3 separate regions of the Homo sapiens genome follow, and regions 1 and 2 are each linked to region 3. Evidence: promoter capture Hi-C in 16 types of primary human blood cells and fetal thymus (Javierre and others, 2016). All regions are on one chromosome and are shown on one strand. The core of a region is centred on a gene start or on the middle of the fragment in contact, and the rest is flanking DNA. Distances in the headings are between cores, read along the strand shown.

Evidence for each region. Contacts are between HindIII fragments. The CHiCAGO score rates a contact against its expected background, and 5 or more counts as called.
Region 1: a contact is called between a fragment that was not itself captured here and the fragment with the promoter of ADI1 in region 3, in 1 of 17 cell types (non-activated CD4 T cells). The highest score is 7.8, in non-activated CD4 T cells.
Region 2: a fragment that was not itself captured here is called in contact with the fragment with the promoter of ADI1 in region 3 in 1 of 17 cell types (total B cells); the score reaches 8.2 in total B cells.

The regions. Positions count from the first base shown.
Region 1 is chr2:20,044,356-20,048,373 of GRCh38, reverse strand. The region is part of intron 1 of LAPTM4A (lysosomal protein transmembrane 4 alpha); the gene reads left to right. Among named protein-coding and RNA genes, the nearest start is that of LAPTM4A, 5.3 kb to the left of the region's middle. The HindIII fragment of the contact is 1,471 bases long and covers 1,272-2,742 here.
Region 2 is chr2:19,906,931-19,910,732 of GRCh38, reverse strand. It overlaps WDR35 (WD repeat domain 35), which reads left to right. Exons shown (of 27, transcript NM_020779.4): 27 at 1-470. Among named protein-coding and RNA genes, the nearest start is that of TTC32, 6.8 kb to the right of the region's middle. The HindIII fragment of the contact is 4,962 bases long and covers 1-3,802 here.
Region 3 is chr2:3,517,463-3,521,566 of GRCh38, reverse strand. It overlaps ADI1 (acireductone dioxygenase 1), which reads left to right and starts at 2,036. Exons shown (of 4, transcript NM_018269.4): 1 at 2,036-2,199. The coding sequence starts at 2,080. LOC124907725 (a long non-coding RNA gene) reads right to left here and starts at 2,021. Exons shown (of 2, transcript XR_007086195.1): 1 at 1,611-2,021. RefSeq lists enhancers at 1,328-1,848, 1,849-2,370 and silencers at 1,790-1,919, 1,990-2,309, 2,390-2,449, 2,930-3,129. The HindIII fragment of the contact is 6,500 bases long and covers 1,455-4,104 here.

The DNA.
Region 1 (4,018 bases), core at 758-3,257, about 17 Mb before region 3:
ACCTGGTTAAGTAACAGGAAATTTCAGAATGAGCTCATGTTTAAATTCTGGCATTCCTGAAATGGTTTTCTCTATCATTTATTGAAGAATTTGAAGCCAGTTGATTTTAAACAAGTTTCTTATGAGGTATAAACTCAAATGTTTATTGAATAATTGAAAATGGACTTAAAAGTGTGCTGTAGTAGATATACTTTGTGATTAATGGTGTGCACTACAAGACTACATTTTGAGCATTTGTAATAATTTTATCTCTTAGACTTAATATATGGCTAATTTTTCATGAGTGTCTCAACCATAAACAGTTTGAAGTTCTGTATCTGGGAGAGAAGTAAAAACAGGTTTCCTTAAGCTCTATTCCTTTCTAGCCCTCACCTCTGACTTCAAGTAAGCATAGCTTGTTTATATTTGTTAGTTTCCTTCCTTAAACTAAGGAAGTTTTGTGCCTCTGCCTTTGCATATGCTATTCCTTCTCCCTGAAATGTTGCTGTCCTCCCAAGTCACTTTCTAAAAATTTTATTAAGGAAATTTTCATACATACAAAAGTAGTGAAGTAGTACGAAAACCTCCCATTTATTCATCACCCAGCTTCAACCATTAACAACATTTTGCCAAGTCCAGATAATTTAATGGTTAGCTCACATGTTTTCGTGGTAAAACTTTCCTTTTTTTTTTTTTTTGAGACGGAGTCTCGCTCTGTCGCCCAGGCCGGACTGCGGACCGCAGTGGCGCAATCTCGGCTCACTGCAAGCTCCGCTTCCCGGGTTCACGCCATTCTCCTGCCTCAGCCTCCCGAGTAGCTGGGACTACAGGCGCCCGCCACCGCGCCCGGCTAATTTTTTGTATTTTTAGTAGAGACGGGGTTTCACCTTGTTAGCCAGGATGGTCTCGATCTCCTGACCTCATGATCCACCCGCCTCGGCCTCCCAAAGTGCTGGGATTACAGGCGTGAGCCACCGCGCCCGGCCTTTTTTTTTTTTTTTCTTTTTTGAGACAGAGTCTTGCTCTGTCACCAGGCTGGAGTGCAGTGGTGCGATCTCGGCTCACTGCAACCTCCGCCTCCCAGGTTCAAGCGATTCCTCTGCCCCAGCCTCCCAAATAGCTGGGACTACAGGCACCCGCCACCATGTCGGGCTAATTTTTTGTATTTTAGTAGAGACGGGGTTTCACCGTGTTGGCCGGGATTGTCTCGATCTCCTGACCTCATGATCTGCCTGCCTTGGCCTCCCAAAGTGCTGGGATTACAGGCGTGAGCTACCATGCCCAGCCAAGCTTTCTTTACTTCCTAGCCAGGGGGATCTGTTTTTCTCACGGTGCACCTGCAAAAGTTTCTGGATCCTTCTTGTATGTACTTATTAAATAGTACTCAGTACACATTGGTAGGATTGTCCTTTTCTCTTATTTTTCTCTCTACAGCAAGATGTTCTCCTGGAGGGAAGAGGGTGATGTCTTTATAAGGGCAGTGGCTCACGCCTGTAATCCCAGCATTTTGGGAGGCCAAGGCAGGTGGATTGCCCAGGAGTTCGAGACCAGCCTGAGCAACATGACGAAACCCCCTCTCTACCAAAAAAAAATATATATTATATTATATATATATTTATATATTATATTATATATATATTTATATAATATATATTTATATATAGATATATAATATATAAATATATATAAAACATATAAAAATATATATACACACACACATACATACATATATATATTAGCGGGGCATGGTGTGGTGGTGCATGCCTGTAGTCCCAGCTACAGGGGAGGCTGAAGTGGGAGGATCACTTGAGCCGGGGAGGCAGAGGTTGCAGTGAGCCTAGATCGCAGTAACTACTCTCCATCCTGGGTGACAGAATGAGACCCTGTCTCAAAATAAAATGTGTGTGATGGCTAACTTATTAATTAAAACATTTGAGGTGTTCATTACACATTTGTTGAATGAATGTCTCCTCCAAAAAATATTGTGAATACTCAGTTGTATCTGCATGTAACAGTAAACAACAACAAAAAACTTTTTTTTTTTAAATTATACTGTAAGTTCTAGGGTACATGTCCACAGCGTGCAGGTTTGTTGCATAGGTATACATGTGCCATGTTGGTTTGCTGCACCCATCAACTCATCATTTACATTAGTTATTTCTCCTAATGCTATCCCTCCCCCAGCCCGCCACCCGCTGACAGGCCCTGGTGTAGGTGTGTGATGTTCCCCACCCTGTGTCCAAGTGTTCTCATTGTTCAGTTCCCACCTATGAGTGAGAACATGCGGTGTTTGGTTTTCTGTCCTTGTAATAGTTTGCTGAGAATGATGGTTTCCAGCTTCATCCATGTCCCTGCAAAGGACATGAACTAATCCTTTTTTATGGCTAAAAAACGTTTTAAAGATAGTCAATTTTGATCTTTATCAGATAACAGGCTTTGCTTAGTTCTGTAGATTGACCCTCCTGTGGGTGCTTTCTCTGCATGGGAAGCCCTTATCTGGATGCCTCCTTAAACCAGACACACTGTTTTAATTATTATCTCAGTAGATACTGGCTCTGGGCAAATTACTGTGGGAAAACTGAAAAATGATTTTTTTTTTAAAGTCTCCAGAGAATCTTCTGGAATAGGTGTGGCAGTGAAAGAAGAAAACAAAGAATTCCTCTCTTCAGGCCCTGTGCTTCCATGGATCTGATACAGTTATTTTGTAACAAGTCAAATCTAACAGATTTCTTATTGTACACACTTACATAAGATGTAGAAGCTTTCAAAAACAATGCACACCACCTGATTTGACTGATTAAATTTACAGTACTGTTAACACATTGAGTGGTGAATCCGCAGCCCATGCTGCTAAAATATTGCTGCATTCTATACCTCTCCATATTGCCAAGTTTAGAAGTTAATAATTTAATCTTTTTTTTTTTTTTTTAAAGAGATGGGGTCTTGCTATGTTGCCTGTGCTGGTGTGCAATGGCATGATTATAGCACACTGCAGCCTTGAACTGGGCTCAAACAATCCTCCCACCTCAGGCACCTGACCAGCTGGGACTACAGGCACACACCACTGTCCCCAGCTTAATCATTCTTTTTAAATTACATTTTTATTAACTTTCTTTCCTGAATACAGTGAAAGGAAAAAGTGAATCAGGAATAAATATTTGTAATAGTTAGTACATAGTTGGATATTTTCAGAGAAATTTTGTATTGTAAGATTACAGTTAATTTTATGTATTTTTTGAAAAGCTAAACATGTAATTTAGAAATATCAACTTTAATCAGAGATAAGTTGCCAGGGCTTACATGTGAGCACAAGGTAGGCGTTCGTTGGTGAATATCTTTAAGATCAAAGGATGCCAGGAGCGGTGGCTCGTGCCTGTCATCCTAGCACTTTAGGAGGCCAATGCAGTAGGATCACTTGAGGCCAGGAGTTCAAGACCAGACTGGACAACATAGTGAGACTCCATCTCTACAAAAAAAATTTTTTTAAGTCACAAGGATGGGTTTTCCAGTGTAATACTTTAAGATGTAAGTTGGGGTTCTAATGAAATGATGTGATCTAATGGAATATAATTAACTCAAAGAAGATTTGGAAAAAGCTTTTAATGAAGTAGCATTGAAATTTATTTCACTGTTTCTTGGTCCTTCTGATTGGCCCTACGATTTATTTTGTTTAATATTTAGTGGTATGACCCACAGTGAAATTAAACTTGAAGTGTCTCTAGTACTAAAAGAAGATAATAGTGGATGAGCGTGTGACTTATCCATGGAAGAGAAGAAAAGTGAAGAGTTCTTTTGTTTTTTAAGAGACAGACTTAGTATTGTTGCCTAGGCTGGTCTCCAGAGCTCAGGCGATCCTTCCCACCTCAGCCTCCCAAGTAGCTGGGACTATAGGTGTGAGATTTTTAGAAATCCTTCATGTAATAAAAATATTTAAGAAGGGAAAATAGAACTCCTAAATGTTTTTGGCATGTCATTCCCTTCATTTAGTAATTGGGTTTGCATGCTTTTCTTGACAAAGGAATTTCTGTACCGCAGAGAG
Region 2 (3,802 bases), core at 1,072-3,571, about 16 Mb before region 3:
CTAACAAACTCTCCCTTGACTAGGGGGACAAAGAAAAGCAAAACTGACCATAAAAAACAATTACCTGGTGAGAAGTTGCATAAACAGAATTAGGTAGTATATTGAAGACAGCATCATTAAACAGTTATGTTGTTCTCCTTGCAAAAAACATGTACTGACTTCCCGTTGAGTAATGCCAAGTTGTTTTTTTTATTATAAAACTTGCCCTTCATTACATGTTTCAAAGTGGTGTGGTGGGCCAAAATATTGAAATGATGGAACTGACTGATAAAGCTGTACAAATAAGCAGTGTGCCTAACAAGCAACACAGTAATGTTGACATGCTTAATTCACAAATGCTAATTTCATTATAAATTGTTTTGCTAAAATACACTTTGAAACTATTTTTCTGTATTCCAAGAGCTGAGATCTTAGATTTTATGTAGTATTAAGTGAAAAAATACGAAAATAATAAACATTGAAGAAAAAAATAACTTGTGTTTATTCCACGTTTTCTTTATCTATAACTTACGGAGAACACGGTGTTTGCTGTGTCTTCATTTAAGTATTCTGATGGGGGTTGGTTAGGAGGGTATTGGGCTCCAGAGTGGAGAAGGGGAAAAGGGAGCAGGAGGTACAATAGATATACAATACCACTTTTGCTACCAAACAAGGGGGGAAAAACCCCAACAACCTTCCAGAGGCACTAGGCAAATGTCAGATATTGGAGGTTGCTGTGAGCTACTCCTTAATGGTCATGCTGAGTTCTCATTTAGGAACGAAGGAAATTATGTCCTACTAGACCTATAAGAGAAAATAAAGAATACTACATTTGATAATGTAGCTCCAAGATTTTCTACTCAGTTTCAAAATGAAAATAGGAATATTGTATTGCCTCTACTGTCTATTTTAAAGACCATTTTCTCAATTCATTTTTTTCTCTAAGAAACTAATATTTACTGGTTTTTTTTTTTTTGAATATAAAAAGCAGGCCAGGCGCAGTGGCTCACGCCTATAATCCCAGCACTTTGGGAGGCTGAGGCGGGCGGATCACGACGTCAGGAGATTGAGACCATCCTGGCTAACGTGGTGAAACCCCGTCTCTACTAAAAATACAAAAAATTAGCTGGGCGTGGTGGCGGACGCCTGTAGTCCCAGCTACTTGGGAGGCTGAGGCAGGAGAATGGCATGAACCCGGGAGGCAGAGCTTGCAGTGAGCCAAGATAGTGCCACTGCACTCCAGCCTGGGCGACAGAGCAAGACTCCGTCTCAAAAAATAATAATAATTAAAAAAAAAAGCAAAAATGTTCATGGCAGAAATTTTCAAAAATACATAACGGTATAGATGAGAAAGTAAAATTAGTTGATCTTTATAAATAAAATATTTTAGTTGAATGTAAGAGATGAAAAAAACTGAAGTGACACTGAAGGAATTTGTATAATTGGTTTCTTCGTACCAAAATCAGTATTTGTTCTTAAGAGATTTCTTTAAAATTAAAAGAAAGTAGACATTAAAAGGCTTTGGGAAGCCAAGGCAGGCGGATCACAAGGTCGGGAGTTTGAGACCAGCCTGGCCAATATGGTGAAACCCTGTCTCTACTAAAAATACTAAAATTAGGCAGGCATGGTGGCGGGTTCCTGTAGCCCCAGCTACCTGGGAGGCTGAGGCGGGAGAATCGCTTGAACCTGGGAGGCGGAGGTTGCAGTGAGCCAAGATTGTGCCACTACACTCCAGCCTGGGTGACAAAGCAAGACTCTGTCTAAACAAAAAAACAAAACAAAATTATTTAGCTAATTTATTGTTTGGCAGTTTAAATTTCTAGGTAGTAAAATTGAGAGAGATTTAGAAAAAATGAGATGCTTCTACACACTACAATGGCTAAAATTGACAAGAGAAATAGTGAGGGTATAGAACAGCTGAAACCCTCATACATTGCTGATGGAAATGCAAAACAGTACACTCACTTGGGAAAAGTTTGGAAGTTTCTTCTAAATTTAAATATACACTTAACATAGAACCCAGAAATCTCACTCTTAGGAATTTACCCAGAAGAAATCAAAACACATTTACAGGAAGACTTGAATGCAAATGTACGTAAGTTTTATTTATAGTAGACAGAAACTGGAAAGAAACCAAATATCCATTAATATGTGAATGTATAAACAAATTGTGGACTATCCACACAATGAAATACTACTCAGCAATAAAAAGGAATGAACTGACACAAGTAACAACATAGATGAATCTTAAAAGCATTGTGCTACGTGCAAGAAGCCAGATATAGAAGACAGCATACTGTATGATGTTATTTATATGAAATTCCAGAAAAGACAAAATCATAGAAAGTAGTGCCTGAGATCAGGGAGAAGGGTAGGTGATTGACTTCAAAGGTATACAAAGGAGCATTGTGGGATGATAGAAATGTTCCATATCTTGGTTTTGGTGATGATTACATGACTCCACATTTGTTAAAACTCATCAAATTGCCCATTTAACATTGGTAGTTTTATTTTTTTAATAAGAGATTTCTATTTTAGTTGAATTTAACAGAAGAAAAAGAAACTGAGGTGAGACTGAATAAATTGCTGTATTATGTCTTTATGCTGAGAGATATCAGCTCCTAAGAGATTTCTCTAAAGTTAAAAGAAATTAATGTCAATGATACCTCCAGCTGATTGAAGTCCACCCTTTCCACACTGATGTGCAATTATATGGGAAAAAAATCAAGTCCATATATGTAGGTAACAATTTCTGATTTCTTTTTCTGTTCCATTGATCTGTTTGTCTTTCTTTGGCCCAAAGCAGAATGTCTCAGTTATTATAGTTTTTAAAATAGGTCCTGCTATCTGGTACAAGTCCTCCTTTGTTTTTCTTCTTCAAAAATGTTTTGTCACTCTCAGTCCTTTGCACTTCTTTTCTACATATACAACTATATAACCATGTTTAATGACTGCTTTTTTTAAAAAAAATACTTCTCAATTGTCATGTCTTTCATTTCTTTTTATCATCTTATTGCACTGGCTAGGATACCCAATACAATGCTGAATAATTAAAGTGATGATACTGGGCATTCTTGTCTTATTCTTAATCTCAAAGGAAATTTTTCAATATTTTAAGAAATCATTGCTTATTATATTTTCTGTAGACATTTTGTCGGTAGGTTTTAATAAGTATGTCTTCTTGTCCTAGTTTGCTAAGGAGTTGAATTTTATTAACTGCATTTTCTACATCTGTTGAGATTTTTCTTCAATTTGTTGATGTGGTGAGTTAAGTACTACAAGCAAGAATACTTGATAATGCTAAAAACTGCTATTCACAGTGACAATGTAACATGTAAGAGTATCTGTAGACATAGATATAACACCTAATATCTATGCTCGTAGCAACCACCTTTATAAAGCAGAAACTGCAGTGGATGCAACAAAATCAATAGAAATACAGTAATAATGACTTCAATGCAATGTTGTTGCAACGATCTTTTTACAGAAAACACACTTGCCACTTGATTTTTCCATATTTTTTATGTGATGAAATAGACATAGCACAAAATTTACTATCTTAATCATTTTTAAATTTTTTTTAAATTTTTTACAAGACGTGGTCTAGCTCTGTCACCCAGGCTGGAGTGCAGTGGCACAATCATAGCTCACTGCAGCCTCAAACTCCTTAGCACAGTAATCCTCCCACCTCAGCTTCCCAAAGTGCTGGCATTACAGGCATGAGATCCTGCACCTTGCCTATCTTAATCATTTTTAAGTGTACAGTTAAAGTGGCATTAACTATATTTATTAAGTACATTCATATTGTTCATATTCCACCACC
Region 3 (4,104 bases), core at 787-3,286:
TGTCACCCAGGCTACAGTGCAGTGGTACAATCTCAACTCACTGCAACTTCAGACTCCCAGGCTCAAGCAATCCTCCTGTCTCAGCCTGCAGAGTAGCTGGGACTAGCGGTGCAAACCACCACGGCCAGCTAATTTTTGTACTTTTAGTAGAGACGGGGTTTCACCATGTTGCCTCGGCTGGTCAAGTGATCTACCCTCTTTGGGCTCCCGAAGTGCTGGAATTACAGGCGTGAGCCACAGTGCCTGGCATCTGGCTCCTATTTTTAAAAGGTCACTCTGGGTGCTGTGCATAGAATGGATTGCACTGGGGCAAAAATGGAAGCGGTGTGAGGAGGGGGAATTTCAGTAGTCAATTCCATCAGGCAAGAAAAGACTGCAGAAAGAGTTGGGCTGGAGAGAAGTGAATGGATTTGCGGTGTGTTTCGAAGGTCAAAGCAACATGACTTGCTGATAGATTGGATTGGATCTTGAGGGTGAGGAAAAGCAAAACTGAGAGTACACCTAGATTTTTTTATTAAGCCACTGGGCAGTCAGTGCTGCCGTTCACTGAGACGGGAAAGGTTAGGGAGAAGCATGTTTGGGGGTGTGTGTGGGGAATCAGTTGTTTTGGCCATGTTAGGTTTGACACACTGATTAGCCATGTATGTGACAACACCAACTGGATACTCAAGCCTGAGGTTCTGGAATGAGGTCCAGGTTGGAGATGTGGCTGCAGGAGCCGGCAGCACAGCATGGAAAGTCGCCTGGAGTGAGTGGATAGGAACAGGACGAGGAGAGTCTGGAACGCTCCACTAACCAGTGGTTAGAGGAGCAGGAGCTAGGAGGGGCCTGGGAAGGAGCAGCCAAGATGCCCTCATGAAGGAAAATGAGAAAATGTTTCAAGAAGGGCGTGGGCAACTGTGACGAATGTTGCTGGTAAGAACAGAAGTGCCATGATTGGATCTGGCAATATGGCAGTCATTAGCAGTTCCCCAGTGGTGAGAAGCGAAGCCTTATTGCAGTGGCTTAAGGAGAAAATGCGAGGTGCGAGATTGCCATTAGATTCTTGCATGAAGGTTTGTCATGAGTGCTGCAGAAAAATGGGCAATGGCGTCTAAGGTGTGTTCTTGAAGGATGAGTAGTAACTGGTCAAGTGAAGAGGTGGAGAGGTAGGCTCTCTAAGGAGGATGTATTTGCAAAGCCATTAGAGCAAGGGAACAGAAATGAAATAAGTGTGTATTTTTCTTGCAATATTTCTGGAAGTTCAAGAGTCAATTGCATGCATTGGGGTTGTGCTCTTACAGCAGTCTCATTTAAATCCTGTCTGCTTTATCGTTATTTGTTAAAGAGACTGAGGGAATGGCTGAGATAATCTGATCTTTTTCAACTCGTTGGTTTGAAAAGACATCTAGGATGGTCAAGCGGCTGGACTTTATTAGCTACATTGAAAAATTCAGAATGGGATAGGGGAAGCTTGTTTTTATTCTAAGACTAGCACATTACAGTGTATGGGGAAGGGAGAAACGATGAAAAGAGGAAACAAGAGGAAGTTTAAAAAGTACAGGGTAGCACTGCAGAATGCCGACACTGCAAAAGTCTGGCGAGCGGGGAGGTGGAGGACAATGTCTCACCTGGGATCCGAGCTGTGAAGTCTCAACTGTGCCCATATGGACTGCATGAGCTTAACAAAATCCTTATTCTTTTTTTTTTTTTTTTGCATTTGCTTTCCATACTCTAAACACGTTTAACGTCGTTTGCCTCACAAGATTGCTCTGAAGGTGCAGGGAGACCGCGGCAGCACACACAAGGCACGTGCGATGCCTACGGTGAGCTTCACCTGCCCGGCGCGTCTGGCGAACGGCTGGCCCCGGGCCGCGGGCCTCAGGCAGGTCCGAGGGTGCCCAGGACAGGGTCGGGGCTTGAATGCCTTTGCTTCCGAAAACAGCGGAGCCGTGGGGCCTCCCCCGCGCCGGCCCTGCCTCCAACCAGCCGCCCAATCCCGGCTCCCATGCGCGTCCACGCCTCCCTATAAGATAAAGCGCGGCCGACGGGCTCCGAGCGCGGCCCCTGGGTTCGAACACGGCACCCGCACTGCGCGTCATGGTGCAGGCCTGGTATATGGACGACGCCCCGGGCGACCCGCGGCAACCCCACCGCCCCGACCCCGGCCGCCCAGTGGGCCTGGAGCAGCTGCGGCGGCTCGGGGTGCTCTACTGGAAGGTACGCGAGCCCAAGCCTCGCAGAGCGTGCGGGCGACGCCGACCCCCAAACGCCGCGCACAGCCCAGCCTCCTCCAGGTGCCGGGCAGCGGCCTGGGAGCCGCGGCATGCTGCGCATGCTCAGCAGCGGGATTTGGGGGTTCGTGGCGGCTCCCGGTGCCTGGGGTGGGCTGCGCATGCTCAGCAGTGGGGCTGGGTGGTCAGGGCCTCCTGCGCGGCGCCTGGGTGTGCTGCGCATGCTCAGCAGCGGCGTTGAGGGGTCGGCGGTCAGCCCCCAGCGCCTGTGGTGTGCTGCGCATGCTCAGCAGCGAAGTTTACGGGGTTGGCGGTCGGCTTCCGGCGCCTGGGGTGGGCTGCGCATGCTCAGCAGCGGGGCTGGTGGGGGTCGGCGGTCCGTTTCTGTTGCCTGGGGTGTGCTGCGCATGCTCAGCAGCAGAGTTGGCGAGTCAGGGGCCTCGCAGCCGGGACTCGCTGCGCACGCGCAGCTCCGGGATTGGCAGCGACCTGAAGGGTCGGCCGGCAGGGCTGCAAGATTCGCCGGAGGCGGGCTGCGAGTTCGTGGGCTCGTTGGGCTTGTCCGACGCCCTGCCTGCCTGGCTAACCTCGGTCAAAGGCCCAGGGGTTTCTTCTATCGGAGGAAGGGGGACTCCGCTTGAAAGTGTCCTGGGGGAGGGACCGGGCGCCAGCAGATCGAGGCGGGGTCCTGCCGCGGTCTGTCGGGGATCCCCGGGGGGTAGCGCTCGGTGGTGGGGTGGGGGCGTCTCCAGTGGGCGGTGGAGCTGGCTTGGGTCCCGGCTGGGCCCGGTGTCAGCCCTGCCTCTGTAACGCTAGCTTTGCAAGGCGGGGCTAGGCTTTGCACCGGTGTCCCGTTGCTTGCACAGCACCAGTCCAGATCCGCTCACCTTGTTTATTTGCAAATGGTTTTGCAGTAACAAAGGTTTACTGCAAAAGAGAGGGCCAGGGTAGGCCTCAGGGATAGGCTGAGGGGTGACTGGATCTAATCTTCATTCATGTGATTTAAATGAAATACACAGGGTTACCTGGACACCACACTTTTTCCCTTGGGAAAGGATTATAGAATATTCCAGCATAATCTATTTGGATATCATCTTGTTCTATCCTAAATAACAGAAGAGGGAAGTGACAATTGGCATACCAGTGCGAAACAGGGCATGCATGTTAATGTTTACATAGTATTTGTCTTTTCCTAGGATAAGGTTTAACACTTACCTTGCTGGAGGGTACTTCTTCAAAGCAATCAAGTGGTTTATAGTTTTCCATTAATGAGAGGAGAATAAATTTTGACTTATTATGTTTATCCACAATCCAAACAACCAGAGGGTTCAAATTAATACACTTGGGGAGTTTCATTGTGCATTTGACGGTTTTAAGAACAAGAACAAGAGTGAGATTACAGGTCAGCTTCTTAATGTATTCAAAGAATAAAATAAGATTTATTTTAATAGACATCTTTTAGATTATTACATGGGCTCAAACATAGTTTTTCCTACCGTCTAGTTCTGCTCTGAGTCAGGGCTATCAAAATTAAATCATGTTTACTCTGTGGTTTTAATGTCCTGTGTGTTTTTATATTCTTCCTTTCTTTTTTTTTTTTGCTCTTTTTGCCCAGGCTGGAGTGCAGTGGCATGATCTCGGCTCACCGCAACCTCATCTTCCCGAGTTCAAGCCATTCTCATGTGTCAGCCTCCCGAGTAGCTGGGATTACAAGGTGCACAGCACCATGCCGGGCTAATTTTGTATTTTTAGTAGAGACAGGGTTTCTCCATGTTGGTCAGGCTGATCTTGAACTGCTGACCTCAGGTGATCCACCCACTTCGGCCTCCCAAAGTGCTGGCATTATAGACACGAACCACCGCACCCGGCCTATATGCTTTCTTAATATCCA